Regions from separate parts of the Homo sapiens genome. Here region 2 is linked to region 1. The links are contacts of gene promoters, found by promoter capture Hi-C in blood cells and fetal thymus (Javierre and others, 2016). All regions are on one chromosome and are shown on one strand. The core of a region is centred on a gene start or on the middle of the fragment in contact, and the rest is flanking DNA. Distances in the headings are between cores, read along the strand shown. Region 1 holds the start of PDCD4-AS1 (PDCD4 antisense RNA 1). Region 2 holds the start of ACSL5 (acyl-CoA synthetase long chain family member 5).

Evidence for each region. Contacts are between HindIII fragments. The CHiCAGO score rates a contact against its expected background, and 5 or more counts as called.
Region 2: a fragment that was not itself captured here is called in contact with the fragment with the promoter of PDCD4-AS1 in region 1 in 2 of 17 cell types (M0 macrophages and M1 macrophages); the score reaches 7.3 in M0 macrophages.

What each region holds. Positions count from the first base shown.
Region 1 is chr10:110,865,535-110,872,153 of GRCh38, forward strand. PDCD4-AS1 (PDCD4 antisense RNA 1) reads right to left here and starts at 5,370. Exons shown (of 1, transcript NR_026932.1): 1 at 3,356-5,370. It overlaps PDCD4 (programmed cell death 4), which reads left to right and starts at 6,394. Exons shown (of 12, transcript NM_014456.5): 1 at 6,394-6,484. It overlaps LOC124902500 (a long non-coding RNA gene), which reads left to right. Exons shown (of 2, transcript XR_007062288.1): 2 at 640-914. RefSeq lists enhancers at 2,015-2,064, 4,892-5,502 and silencers at 2,185-2,254, 6,507-6,556, 6,587-6,619. The HindIII fragment of the contact is 8,654 bases long and covers 1-6,078 here.
Region 2 is chr10:112,372,791-112,379,654 of GRCh38, forward strand. It overlaps ACSL5 (acyl-CoA synthetase long chain family member 5), which reads left to right and starts at 1,326. Exons shown (of 21, transcript NM_203379.2): 1 at 1,326-1,479. RefSeq lists enhancers at 3,027-3,176, 3,058-3,558, 3,317-3,536, 3,559-4,059. The HindIII fragment of the contact is 494 bases long and covers 2,129-2,622 here.

The sequences.
Region 1 (6,619 bases), core at 4,120-6,619:
TATGTGCACTCAGGGCAGCTGGAGAAAAGAGGATTAATTCTGAGACATGTGAAGCCTAGCCCAGGATCCAGTGTTCCAGAAGAATGCGAATAAAGCCCCGAGAGATACAACTGGAGGAGCACTTCTCTACCCTGACTCAACACTATTAAATGCAGGGCGTGGCAGTTATAATAAATGCTGAAAAGCATCGGGTGGAATGGTCTGTGTTTGCAAAAGTCTAATGAACTGGAGTTTGCAAAGGCTTAGAACTTAGGCCAAGTATAGGAGATGTGGTAAAATTTGTGTTTTGGCGGGGGATATGGTGCGGGAAAGATTTCTTGCTGGAGTTCCTCAATGTTAATTGAGCTTTTTTTCTAAATCTCTAAGGTGGTAGGAGTGATTTGAGGGGGGGAAACCCCATAAAAGACAAATGTACTAAGAAAACCTTTCGAAACCTGAATTGAGGAAATAAAATCTTAGTAGTCTTTCAATTTTTCTTGGTACATACCACAGTAAAATATTGCATCTATTTTTTGAACTATGCTTCACATTACTCTGTGCTTGCTTTTTACCCCAGGAAAGACATGCAAGAAATGCCCCTTGAAGGGTTTCTAAACGTTGTACAATGCTTACTACCCTTTCCCTCTTCCCCACTTTCAGGCCCCTGAGATGGATTCATCTGATACCAGGAGCCTCTAGGACCCAGAAATTTAACTGTCAATCAAGAGGCATGTGAGGGAAAGTCCAGCCCAGCCTGGGTGCCAGAAGGTCTGGATTCCTGGTCTGCACATTCCCTACAACTCTGGGCAGAGATCTCATATGTACTTCTGGCTCAGCTACTAACTTAGCTGTGTGGCTTTAGGTGACCCACTTAACTTCTCTGAATCTGTTTCTCCATTTGTAAAATAAAAGGTTTGGACTAGGGAATCCCCAAATTTCCTTTCAGTATAAAAGTTCCATGATTACCAGTGACCTGCTCAAGGTTCATTATTTCCCTCATGTTTAAAGCACAGAATCTTGTCCACTTCATAGGGAGGTGGTGAAAGTCTATGCACATGTGCTCAGTAAATCTTAGGCCAACACAAATGTCAGCTATCATCATTATTATAAGAATTCTTTATGCAGCTCTTTCTTCAGAACATGTTTTATATCTTTTACCATTTGTGCTAAAGTGCAATTTTTGCCTTAGAGAAATTCTCAAAATTCAGGCTTTGGTTTGACAAAAGGAGACAAGGCGTCAGTTCAGGTAGATGAAGTTGCTGCAAATGACAGCAGCATCTAAAATTTCTTAGGAAGGAAGTGGGCTAAGACCTACCCTTAGCCCCCAGAAAGACAAATTCTCCTCAATTTCATTTAGGGGCATGACCATTTCTTATTAAGAAACAGAACTCTCAAATGAGGCTTTACCCTAAGAATGAAAAGGCCTTGGAGAGTTCCAAAGGCATTAATAGTAAATCTAGGTGCTTATCTTTTGCCTTCAACTGTGCTTTTTCAAGTACTTTACCCAAATTAATTAATTAGTGCTCCTAAACCCACACCAGCCATCACTTTGCCTTTGGGATGGAGGGAGGTGATATTATCTGAGCTTTGCATTAGGAGAAAGCCCCTGGGTTGACAGTCCCTCTGTCCATACCCGGTGGAATCCTCTCCTGCCAACAGTGGCAAACTCCTTTGTTTGTTTGTTTTGAGGTGGAGTCTGTCTCTGTCACCCAGGCTGGAGTGCAGTGGCGGGATCTCAGCTCACTGCAACCTTCGCCTCCTAGGTTCAAGAGATTCTCCTGCCTCAGTCTCCTGAATAGCTGGGACTACAGGCATGCACCACCACGCCCAGCTAATTTTTTTGTATTTTTAGTAGAGATGGGGTTTCACCATGTTGGTCAGGCTGGTCTCAAACTCCTGGCCTCAAGTGATCCGCCCACCTTGGCCTCCTAAAGTGCTGGGATTACAGGCATGAGCTACCACACCCGGCCAGCAAACTTTCTTATCTCTTGTTCTCCATTCCCAGGACTCCCATGGTACCAACTCAGTACCTTGCTCAGCATCCCAGGGTGTTAGAACTGAATGGCTGCTTATGGACTCCCTGCAATGGGCACCTCCTTCTTTTACAGCACAGAAAATTGAAGCATTCAATTCACTCAGGGAGAGGAAGTGAAACACCCAAAGCAACACAGCTAGTTAGGGACAGGGTCACTACCTTGTCTTAAGAGGCGAAAAATAGGAACTATCTCCCACCCTCTCCCCTGACAAAACCAAACACTCTTTGCGCCCCTCCAAGTATCTCAATACTGCTTAAGCCTGAGGAGTACGGGGAAGATGAAGTATGTAACGTTTATCTACTCACAAAGCACAGAGTTTCTGTTGCCACCTCTGAGCAGCTGTCTTGTTCTGGGCAACTGTGATCTCCCTTCCTCTCCTAAGCTCTTGGAATGAATCTTTCTTAAGGGAAATGGAAGTTGCAATTCCATTATTCTGTATAGAGTGAGTTAAGGGGAAGGCCTCTCTCCTTTTCTGTCATCTAATAGCTAAATTAACATAAGCCCATAGGCACAGGGATTCAGGTAACAGAAACCTAGTTTGTGACAATTACAACGTGAAATGAAAACATACATTGTGGCCCAGAAGCCCGGGCAGCCCTAGGCTTCAGATATTACCTACCCTAAAGTAGTATAATGCCTTTTACCAAGAACACAGCTGAATCAACTGTGCTTTTCATAGAACAGGCACACACTAAAATATTTGTGGATTGATTTGGTAGGCAAAAATTCTTGGCACTTGGATACTTCTCCATTTTCAGCTTATTCTTAAAAAAATTTTTTTTGTTAAATGTTCAGCTGCAAAGGCACAGGTGACTAAGTGTTCAACACAGCTGGAAGGAATGTTGGTGACAGTGGCTGTCATCTATATTTCCCAAGTTGGTTTCTAAATAACACTGCTTCTGGGGTATCTTGAGAAAAAAAGGTTCTGTGTTTAAACAAGGTAGGAAACATTACTAATCTTCCTACCTTGGTCTCCCAAGACACTAAAGGCACATAGCTTATTAAAAACACTGAGAAGGCTGGGCACGGTGGCTCATGCCTGTAACCCCAGCACTTTGGGAGGCCGAGGAGGGCAGATCACTTGAGATCAGGGGTTCGAGACCAGCCTGGCCAACATGGTGAAACCTCAACTCTACTACAAATATAAATATTAGCCAGGCGTGGTGGCAGGCGCCTATAATCCCAGTTACTGGGGAGGCTGAGGCAGGAGAATCACTTGAATCCAGGAGGCACAGGTTGCAGTGAGTCAAAATAGTGCCATTACACTCCAAACTGGGCGACAAGAGCAAAACTTCATCTCAAAAAACAAACAAACAAACAAAAAACCACTGAGAAGAGTTGTGGGTAAAGAAACAGTTTTATTTTTGTTTAAACGAGTTATTTCCAAGACCATTTGACCATGGAACAATCCCTCCCACATTTTTTTTTGCATGATATCTATTAAAGTTCCACAAAATTCATGTTCTTTGGAAAATAACTTGGGAATTACTGATTGAGCCCAATTTCTGAATTTTATTGGTAAAGAAAAAGGTCCTGAGAGGGGCTGAAGTTCTTACAGGAAGTTAGTGGGGGAGGTAGGACGACAACCCTATTTCCTGAGTGTCTGGCCCAACCTTGTCAACCACACGCAAATACGGCAGCATTCTCAAAGGTGGGTTCTGGGATCCCAGCCATCATGGGTACTGCTTGAGATGATACGCAAAAAGGACATGAACGTTTTCCTCCCTAATGGGTCCTTTGGGGGCAATTTGCTAAAACATAACAGGTTGTTTTAGATGCTTCTTAAAATTGGTAATCATATCCCATTCTTTCTTTATCTCATAGAACTCGGGATGCCTACCCAACACAGCCTGATTATGCTATATGTGCTTAGTAAGTACATTCAATGAATGACTAAATGAAAGACAGGGAGGAAGAAGGAAACAGTCCAGAACTGAAAGGGATGAGAAGAGAAAAAATGTGGAGAAAGAGAAGGATGGGTAACAAAGGAGCCAGCAGTCACTGATCAGTAGAGTATAGGTGAGAGAGGGGAAAGGAGACAGCTGCAGATAATGGAAAATAACAAAACAAAACTGAGGTCTGGGAAGCTCCGATTTTAAAAAGTGAACATGAGTTATGAGACTAATTCAGATACTGGCCACACCAGGAGGCCCCCGCCCAGGAGATGAGGATGACCACCAACTGCTGAGAATCTTTGTAAACTCAAATCAAGGTGTATTTATTGCACAGGCACAATAAATGAACAAGGCATCTTAAGTACTACAATGACAGGTGAGTGGGTCAGGCACAGTGGCTCACGCCTGTAATCCCAGCACTTTGGGAGGCCGAGGCAGGCAGATCCCTTGAGCTCAGGAGTTCAAGAGAAGCCTGGGCAACATGGCAAAACCCCATCTCTACTAAAAATACAAAAAACTAGCTGGGTGTGGTGGCACAGGCCTGTAGTCTCAGCTACTTGGAAAGCTGAGGTGGGAGGATGGCTTGACCCCAACAGGTTGAGGCTGCAGTGAGCCAAGATTGCACCACTGCTCTCCAGCCTGGGCAACAGGGCAAGACCCTGTCTCAAAACAACAACAACAACAAAATCACAGATGAGTAAGACACAGGTCTTTCCCTAAACAAGGTTACAGTCTAATGGGCAGAAGGGCTAGGACAGGGACTCAGATGAAATAATGCCAGGTAGAATGTGATCAGTGCCCCTGGAGGTGTGGCAAGCCAACACTGTGAGGAATCAGCGGCAGGAAGATCATATCAAATCACGAGGCTCCAGAAAAACTACGAGGGTCCAGGAATGGTGGCTCACGCTTGTAATCTCAACGCTTTGGGAGGCAGAGGTGGGCTGATTGCTTGAGCCCAGGAGTTCAAGACCAGCCTGGACAACATGATGAAACCCTGTGTGTACAGAAAATACAAAAATTAGCTGGGCATAGTGAGCTGTGCCTGTAGTCCCAGTTACTCAGGAGGCTGAGGTGAGAGGATCGTTGAGCTAGGGAGGCTGACGGAGGTCGAGGCAGCAGTGAGCTGTGATCATGCCACTGCATTCTCCTGGGCTAAAGGGCAAGCCCCTGCCTCAATTAAATAAAACAACAACAACAACAAAATAAAAAACTACCAGGAAGGGCCATGAGGCACAGAAGGATTGCATCAGGCGGAGATAGGAGATGAGAAGAGAGACATTTCAAGGTGATATATAAAGAACTACCAGGGGGTGAGGAAGCATATGGGGAGATGTGTGGAGACACAGCCTGAAAGTCTTGAAGTCACATCACGGAGCCTTGAATGACCGACCGAGGCGCTGACACTCAAGAGAGGCAATGGGAAGCCAGTGAAGGTTTGTGTGTGTGTGTGTGCGTGTGTGTGCAGAGAAATAGTAGCATTAGAGATGATTCCCAGGCAGGGTGACTGGGCAGCCAAGGGAAAGCGCTGGCCTGTGCGGGATGAGGCAGTTGGGTTCTGGAGAGCACAAGCAATCATTCGGTGCTGCCCATCAGACAACTGAAAAATCTGATCAGAGGCAGTGGCTAAGTCCCCGCCTGGGAACACAAAGGAAGCCTAAGGTTCTGGTTATCACCCTCAGGGGACCGTGACCTTGAAAGAGTAAGGATAGTACCAGCCAAAACCAATGCAGCCAAGAGGAAAAGTCACAGAGAACAGCGAGGGGAGGTGGAAGTTTCAATACAGAAATTGTAGCCATGGCTGAGAACCCCAGCACTGGAGGCCGGAATTTGTGCGTTTGAACGCCAGAGGCTTGGCTAGTCATGATTAGCAAAGGAACTTCAAAGAGTTTTGGAGCCTGCTTTATATCTGTGAAATGGGAATTATTTCCATCTCAAAGGTTTGAGGGGATTCGCTGAGAGAAACTTCTTAGCATGGGATCTCCAGAAACTGGAAGCCACAGAGAAAGCAGCGGCCAGAGGGAGGAGGAATCGGACAGGCTGATCACTTGGAGTGTTCGCCTAAGCAGTTTCTAGAAATGGAGGCAGGGACCATCAGGAAGCTCAAAACCTTTGCTTCAGCCGAGTTTGCAGAACGCCCTGTGAGGAGAATGGGTGAGCTGGGTCGAGGAAGCTTCATCCTCGTCCCCATCCCCCAGCACTGCCCTTTTCCCAACGCTCCCATCCCGCCACGCCTCCCAACATACCCCCACCCCGACTTCCCGCTCAACTCCCGCTCCAGCCAGTCCCAGGAGCCACATGCGCATGCGCCCTCCCGCGCCCCTCCCCAACTTTCCACGTTTCACTCCTCTCCCTTTTCCTCCTCAGCTCCGGCTCCGCCGCCACGATTGGCCAGCCGACCACCCGGCCTCGGCCAATAAGCGCCGCCCTCTCGCCCCCGTGTTACTGGGTAGAAGAAAACAAAAACAAACAGAGCGAGAAGGGCCAGAGACTCTCCGAGGCGGCGGCAGAGACAGAAGAGCGGGGTCGGGGCCGGCTGACCAGGAACCTGGGCGAGCAGCGGCGGGGGCCCGAGGGGTCAGTACCAGTAGGCGCGGCTCACACGCTCGGGAAGACTGCGCCCTCTCCCCCATCCCTCCTCGGAGGCAGCCGCAAGATGGGAGGGGGCGGGGGCGGAGGCGTGGGGGTCGCGGTCCTGTCAGGTCCGGGCCT
Region 2 (6,864 bases), core at 1,126-3,625, 1.5 Mb after region 1:
TTCACCTGAAAAGGCCTCACTGGCCTCACCTATACAGTAAGTTTGCACATCATCTCCAGGGTTTCTTTCATTTCTACCCACTGTTTTTGTTTAGTAATGATGCCTTGCAGTCCTAATGATCTTGGAATCAAGAATGGTGACTAGAGAACTTCAAAGTGGAAAGAGAGGCTGGGCATGGTGGCTCATGCCTATAATCCCAGCACTTCGGGAGGCCGAGGCAGGCAGATCACTTGAAGTCAGGAGTTCGAGACCAGCCTGGCCAACATGGTGAAACCCTGTCTCTGCTAAAAATACAAAAAAAAAAAAAAAAATTAGCCAGGCATTGTGGTGCATGCCTGTAATCCCAGCCACTCCAGAGGCTGAGGCAGGAGAATTGCTTGAACTCAGGAAGTGGAGGTTGCGGTGAGACTCCGTCTCAAAAAAAAAAAAAAAAAAAAAAAAGGAGAGAGTAGGATGGCTGAGCCATGACGCAGTAGCAATGCTTCTTTTTTTTTTTTTTTTTTTGAGACAGAGTCTCGCTGTGTCGCCCAGGCTGGAGTGCAGTGGCGCGATCTTGGCTCACTGCAAGCTCCACCTCCCGGGTTCACACCATTCTCCTGCCTCAGCCTCCCAAGTAGCTGGGACTACAGGGGCCCACCACCACGCCCGGCTAATTTTTTGTGTATTCAGTAGAGACGGGGTTTCACCGTGTTAGCCAGGAAGCAATGCTTCCTATTCTAGCGCCTTGCTAAACTATGTGTGCTGCAGACTGTGTTCGTGATTCCGAATCCTAAAAACAACCGTCCTAGGCTTGTCTCTCAGCCTAGACTCTAGACTGATTTGGCTCATTTGGTTGTCTTGGAGACGTTCTAATTCTGAAGGGGGCAGTGGTCCCTTCTAGAAGATAGCTGGTCTGCAAATGCACACCTCTGCTTAGTCTGAATCCTAAAGTTATAGCTTGAGCCAATTAAAGTGGCTTCTCATTTTTCTCTCACTCTGATCTCAAGGAGCCCTTTTTCTTCTAGTAATCTAGACCTTCCTCTTCCTATCACAGTCTCAAGGATTGTGCCCCCAAAGCAGATGCAAAGCCCTGTCTACCCCTTCTCCTTCCCCTGAGGTAGAGCTTTATCGAAGGTTTCTCTTGGTAAACGTTAGCTTTCTGAACTAAGGGCCGTCTTTTTTTTTTTTCCCGCTTAAGCCCATTGCATAACAATCTCTTGTTTTAATCTTTTGCCCAACACTGCTTTTCTTACTGTCAGAGGTTACTACAAGTGTTTGAACAGGTAACTTCTACCTTTGAACTTCTGTTGTGACAGATTCAAAGGTTCCAGGGGAGTGTGTTGGCCACTCTCAGGACAGTACACAGTAGCTTCGGGTGTGTCCCAGTCAGTCCTAGGAGCTGTGGAAAGAGTAGAAGTGCCTGAATGTGGTGCTGAATCAATACAGCCAGCTGTGAGGGGAGCACTTCCTGGACCCAGGAAGGGAGAGTCTTCTTCCAAGGTAAGCTGCAATGATACTACCTGCACTATATTGAATATATCTGTGAGATAGTAGGGAGGGGATTGGTGTGGGGAAAGAAAGTGGGATTTGTTATGCTCAACCTAAGGCTCTTTAATAACATGAAATTACATTTAGTTGAATAGTAATCTCAGCTGACTTGTGTGGGAGGCAAAGAAAAAAATCAGTTGGAAAAGGGGTGGAGATATATGAGCTATCCAAATGCTAGCAGGGGATGGAATTGGAAGGGAACACTGATTTTGGTAAGTGTACTAAAGCACACCAAGCCAGAATGTGGGTCTCCTTCATCTTCCATTAAGAAATTTCTGTCTCAGTGTAGTTAGAAGGATCGTGCGTCAGCTGCTGAGGGCAGAGAGTCCCATTTGGCAGACAGAGAGGAAGGGAATCAGCAGATATTCGATTAGGTGCTGGGGACTGTTCTGGGTAGATTATGTATGTTACTTCATTGGTGTATCTCATCCTATAAAGCAGGTGGTATCCTTCCCATTTCACAGAGGCATAGTGCGTCTCCAGGCTGTTAAACAGCATGGCCTAAGCTACATAGCTCCAAGGTGGTGTGGCTAGAATTTGAGACTTGATTGGTCAGTTTCCACAGCCTGCCCAATAATGCAGAATTGTTGTGGGTTGCCAAAGCTTTCAGTTACCCCCTGAAATCCTGAGGGTGTCACTCATGTGCACAGAGGATTGATAGGAATACAACTCTGATGGGCCTTTAGAATGACTCAACCTTCCTGAACTTGAGCATTTTTACTGGAGGAGGTCAATAAAAAAAAAAGAAATAAAACCTCATCTTCCCCTGGCCCTGAGCCCTTTGGTGAAGGAAGACAGCACCCGGTGAAGGGCTCAGAGGTATTAGTGTGGCTGAGATTCGACACCCACTCTGCCATCCTCTGCTCTCCTCTAGAGGAAGTTGCCTCTTGGGGAGCTGAGTTCCTGAAACTAAGCAAATGACAAGTGCTCCTCCAGCCGTGAGATGAGCCAGAGGATGGAATGCCACAGGCCCCACTTCGTCTCCCAGCCCTTCATCTTTCTTCCATGTCCAAAGGCGGCTCCCCAGAGGCCAAGGGCTCAGCTCTTGTGTTCTCTGAGACTGTGGCACAGCTCACCCTGGCTTCCTTAGTAGGAAGCTTTTAAGAACTGCTCTGTAGAAAGAACAAACCCTAATCTAGCTCCAGCAAAGAGCCAGGATCATGCTGAACTTCCTGTGAGCCTTCGTGGGGGATCGAGGCTGGAGAAAGTGCTGCTTCATTCTGAGGTATCTGTGAGGTGGGGAAGGGGCAGGAAAATTTGTCATTTCGGCTTCCTAATCTGAGAATGGTAGCTCCAGGGCCCCCCTGTAGCCACAGCCTTAGGCGGATCAAAAATGAGACTAATACAGGTCCTGGTAATACTGGGGGTGACCAAGGCGAAAGAATCGATTTTTAAGTTAAGTTTTGAGGTGTGACTGTATCAGAGGGAAAGAAACCATGCCAATTGAACGACTCACAGCCCTGTCGTTCCTGACTTGCTTATTTTCTTGGCTTTGCCAGAACTTCTTCAGAGACCAAGGCAGGCAGCTCTGGCGACTGGAGAGAGGCGGGGTAGAAGGTGTTTGTGTGGGTCTGAGGGCTGAGGTACCCTCTAGCCAGACTTTCCTGTCCTCCGAATCCAGCAGGGAACAGCGTCACCTCTGCCTCTGTGAGGCTTCTGATCTGAGGGGGCACCTCAAGTCATTTTAGTTTGTTTGTTTTCATCTTAGTTGAAAGATGATAGGCCACAGGAGGGCAGGGTCAACTGTGTTGAGGCAAGCTGGCTTTTGTGTCGGCCCTTAGGGGCTGAGGTGAAAGGCTTTGACACGGAGCCAGGGTAGCTTTGGCAGCTTCTCCCCTCCTGGTCAGAACACTTCCACTTTCAGTTGTGAAAAAAAAAATTAAAACCAGGAAGTGAAGTCCCCGAGCACGTTAGAAAGCCTGACATGGCCTGACTCGGGACAGCTCAGAGCAGGGCAGAACTGGGGACACTCTGGGCCGGCCTTCTGCCTGCATGGACGCTCTGAAGCCACCCTGTCTCTGGAGGAACCACGAGCGAGGGAAGAAGGACAGGGACTCGTGTGGCAGGAAGAACTCAGAGCCGGGAAGCCCCCATTCACTAGAAGCACTGAGAGATGCGGCCCCCTCGCAGGGTAAGGGGACCATCGAGGGGGTGTTATTCAGCAAGGGGGTCTTGTGAGGGTGTGACAGAGGCCAAGGGGGCATCCTGACCCCCGACTTTCTTTAAGCGACTTAGAATCAAGGGCCGGCTGAGTTCCACGGGCACATCATGCTGTCTCCCTCCTGGTCTCGGTCATGCCTTCAGACCCTGTGTCAGGAGGAGCAACGGGAAGGAAGGATGTGGGGCATGCATGGGGCTCACTTTCCTTCTCTCGACTCTCTTGGGGAAGGTGAACCAAAACAGAGACCTCTTTTTGTGGGTCTGAGCATCCAGCATAGCTCCCCTGAGGTGGGCTGGGGGTTTGCCCTCAATTTTATGTTGGGTAAGACTGATGAATGAGACCAATGGGGTGGGAGAGACAGATGAATGGAGCTGAGTGTATTTTAGGAAGTAAGGCCACAGGTTAAGTCTCAGGTGCTGCTTAATTCCTAAGTACTTCCTTCCCAATGCCCACTCCCTGAGGGTCCTAAGGTGAATCTCAAAGACCCTCAGGGAGTAAGCACTGGAAAGGGACTCTACCACTGGAGACCCTCAGGGAATAAGCACTGGAAAGGGACTCTACCACCGGAGACCCTCAGGGAATAAGCACTGGAAAGGGACTCTACCACCGGAGACCCTCAGGGAATAAGCACTGGAAAGGGACTCTACCACCGGGGCTTGGTACCTTCTGAGATATCAGCCTTTTTTTGGTGGTCTGAAAGGTAGAATTGAATCTATAGCTCCAATGTGTAGGTGATTAGTATTCTATATCAGAGGCAGAGTCTTAAAAAATAAAGTTAAGGCCGGGCGCAGTGACTCACACCTGTAATCCCAGAACTCTGGGAGTCTGAGGTGGGTGGATCACCTGAAGTCAGGAGTTAGAAACCAGCCTGGCCAACATGGCGAAACCCCATCTCTACTGAAAATACAAAAATTAGCTTGGCGTGGTGGCGTACGCCTGTAATCCCAGCAACTCAGGAGGCAGGACAATTGCTTGAACCTAGGAGGCGGAGGTTGCAGTGAGCCGAGATGGCACCACTGCACTCCAGTTTGGATGACAGAGCAAGACTCTGGCTCAAAAACAACACACAAACAAACAAATAAAAAAACATTGAAAACTGACTTAGTTTTCTTTTAAAAAAGGAGTAATTGGTTTTGTTTATTTCTCCCTTCATATTCTGATATGGAGTCACTCTGTGGTAGTCCCCTCCGATTGATCAGTATTCAAGGTTAAACACAGAACATGTCTTGAAAGAGGCATGGTGTAAAATTTTATAGCCATCTTTTGTGTATTTGGCATAATAAAAGGAACAAAAACCTAAATAAAACAAGAAGTGTAAGTGCAAATGCTTATAGGACAGGCAAGTAATATAGAGAAGTAAAGTAGATGGTGTGTAATAAGATGCTAATGGTGGAAACTTTAGCAAAATTCAGAGCAGGCATACCCCAGATAAATGCATTCAAATTTAATTATTAAAAAAGAGAAAACACTTTTTAATCCAGACCAAACAGAATATTTCAGCCTAGCCTGACCTAAAATAGTCTCTCCCAGGCTATATTGTAATTTTTTGAGGGCAAAGACACCAACAACAACATCAGCGTGTCATTGCATACCTAACCATCCACCTATAGTGAGACCACAGATACTACATGGAGGCTGGAGATGGAGGAAGGAGAGAGAAATGAATGGAGAGAGGGAAGATGAAGCCAGGGAAGTACCAGTACACAGTAGGTACTCTTATATTTAATCAAGACAATCTTCTTCTTCTTGTTTTTTTTTTTTTTTTTTTTTTTTTTTTTTTGGAGGAGCCTCACTCTGTCACCTAGACTCCCAGGCTTGAGTGCAGTGGCAACATCTTGGCTCACTGCAACCTCTGCCTCCCCAGTTCAAGCAATTCTCCTGCCTCAGCCTCCTGAGTAGCTGGGATTACAGGCATGCACCACCATGCCCAAATAATTTTTGTACTTTTAGTAGAGACAGGGTTTCACCATATTGGCCAGGCTGGTCTCAAACTCCTGACCTCAAGTTATCTGCCTGCCTAGGCCTCCCAAAGTGCTGGGATTACAGGTGTGAGCCACTGCACCTGGCCTATAGGATTTGCCAGCTTCTTAGAAACCAGGAATACAGTGTCTGCTCCTGTCTGTCTCTCATATGCCTCCTCAGCAGATGAGCAGACCCTCAGCTGGAGTGCAGTCAGAGGTGACTCTTGTGCCTGGCAGCATCAAGCAAGGGTGACGTAACCCCAGCAGCCATGAGTCCAGCCATCACTGCTTATCACATTCTGCTGGAAATGCATCTGGGTCTATTTCTCCCCTCTATGTCTGTACATCCTGAGGTCGGAAAGGGACTCTCTCACCAACTTGTCCTCCCTGGCGCAGGGCCTGACACTTCCTAGGTTCTCAACTCATTGTTTGAATAAATACATGAGATCTGGAGTTTGGAAGGTCAGACAGCCCGTGCAATGCTGTGGTCAGGCCACACTATTAGCCTTCTTTGGGGAAGCTGGTGGATCTCCCAGTCTTCATGGGCCATTCTATTCTAAGAGTTGTGAGGTTGCGAGTGGCTCAAGTTGAGGATTTGAGGTCTGGGGTAAAGCTAGGTCAGAGACAGGCCATGGTTCCCTACAACTAGAAGTGCTCTGTTTAAATAGAAATGAGGGCTTGTTGGCCGGGCGCAGTGGCTCATGCCAGTAATCCCAACACTTTGGGAGGCCGAGGCAGGCAGATCACTTGAAATCAGGAGTTTGAGACCAGCCTGGCCAACATGGTGAAACCCCATCTCTGCTAAAAATACAAAAGCTAGCTGGGCGTGGTGGCAGCTGCCTGTAATCCCAGCTACTCGGGAGGCTGAGGCAGGAGAATCGCTTGAACCCAGGAGGCGGAGGTTGCAGTGAGCTGAGATCTCGCCACTGCACTCCAGCCTGGGTGACAAGAGTGAAACTCCATCTCAAAAAAAAGAAAAAAAAAAAAAAGAGATGAGGGCTTGTTAAAACCTTTGCACAGAAGTGGAGGGGCAGTAATCGTTCAAGACCGTGGTCATCTCTTTTCTTTTGGGACATCTCGTAATAGAACATCTGATATTGGCAAGGATGTGAAAACTGAGGAAAAGGGAAGGAAAGGGGAGCTAGATTTGATTGAGGACTTCCCATGTGCCTGACAGCATACCAACTGTTCTACACACAGCATCTCCTTTAAGTA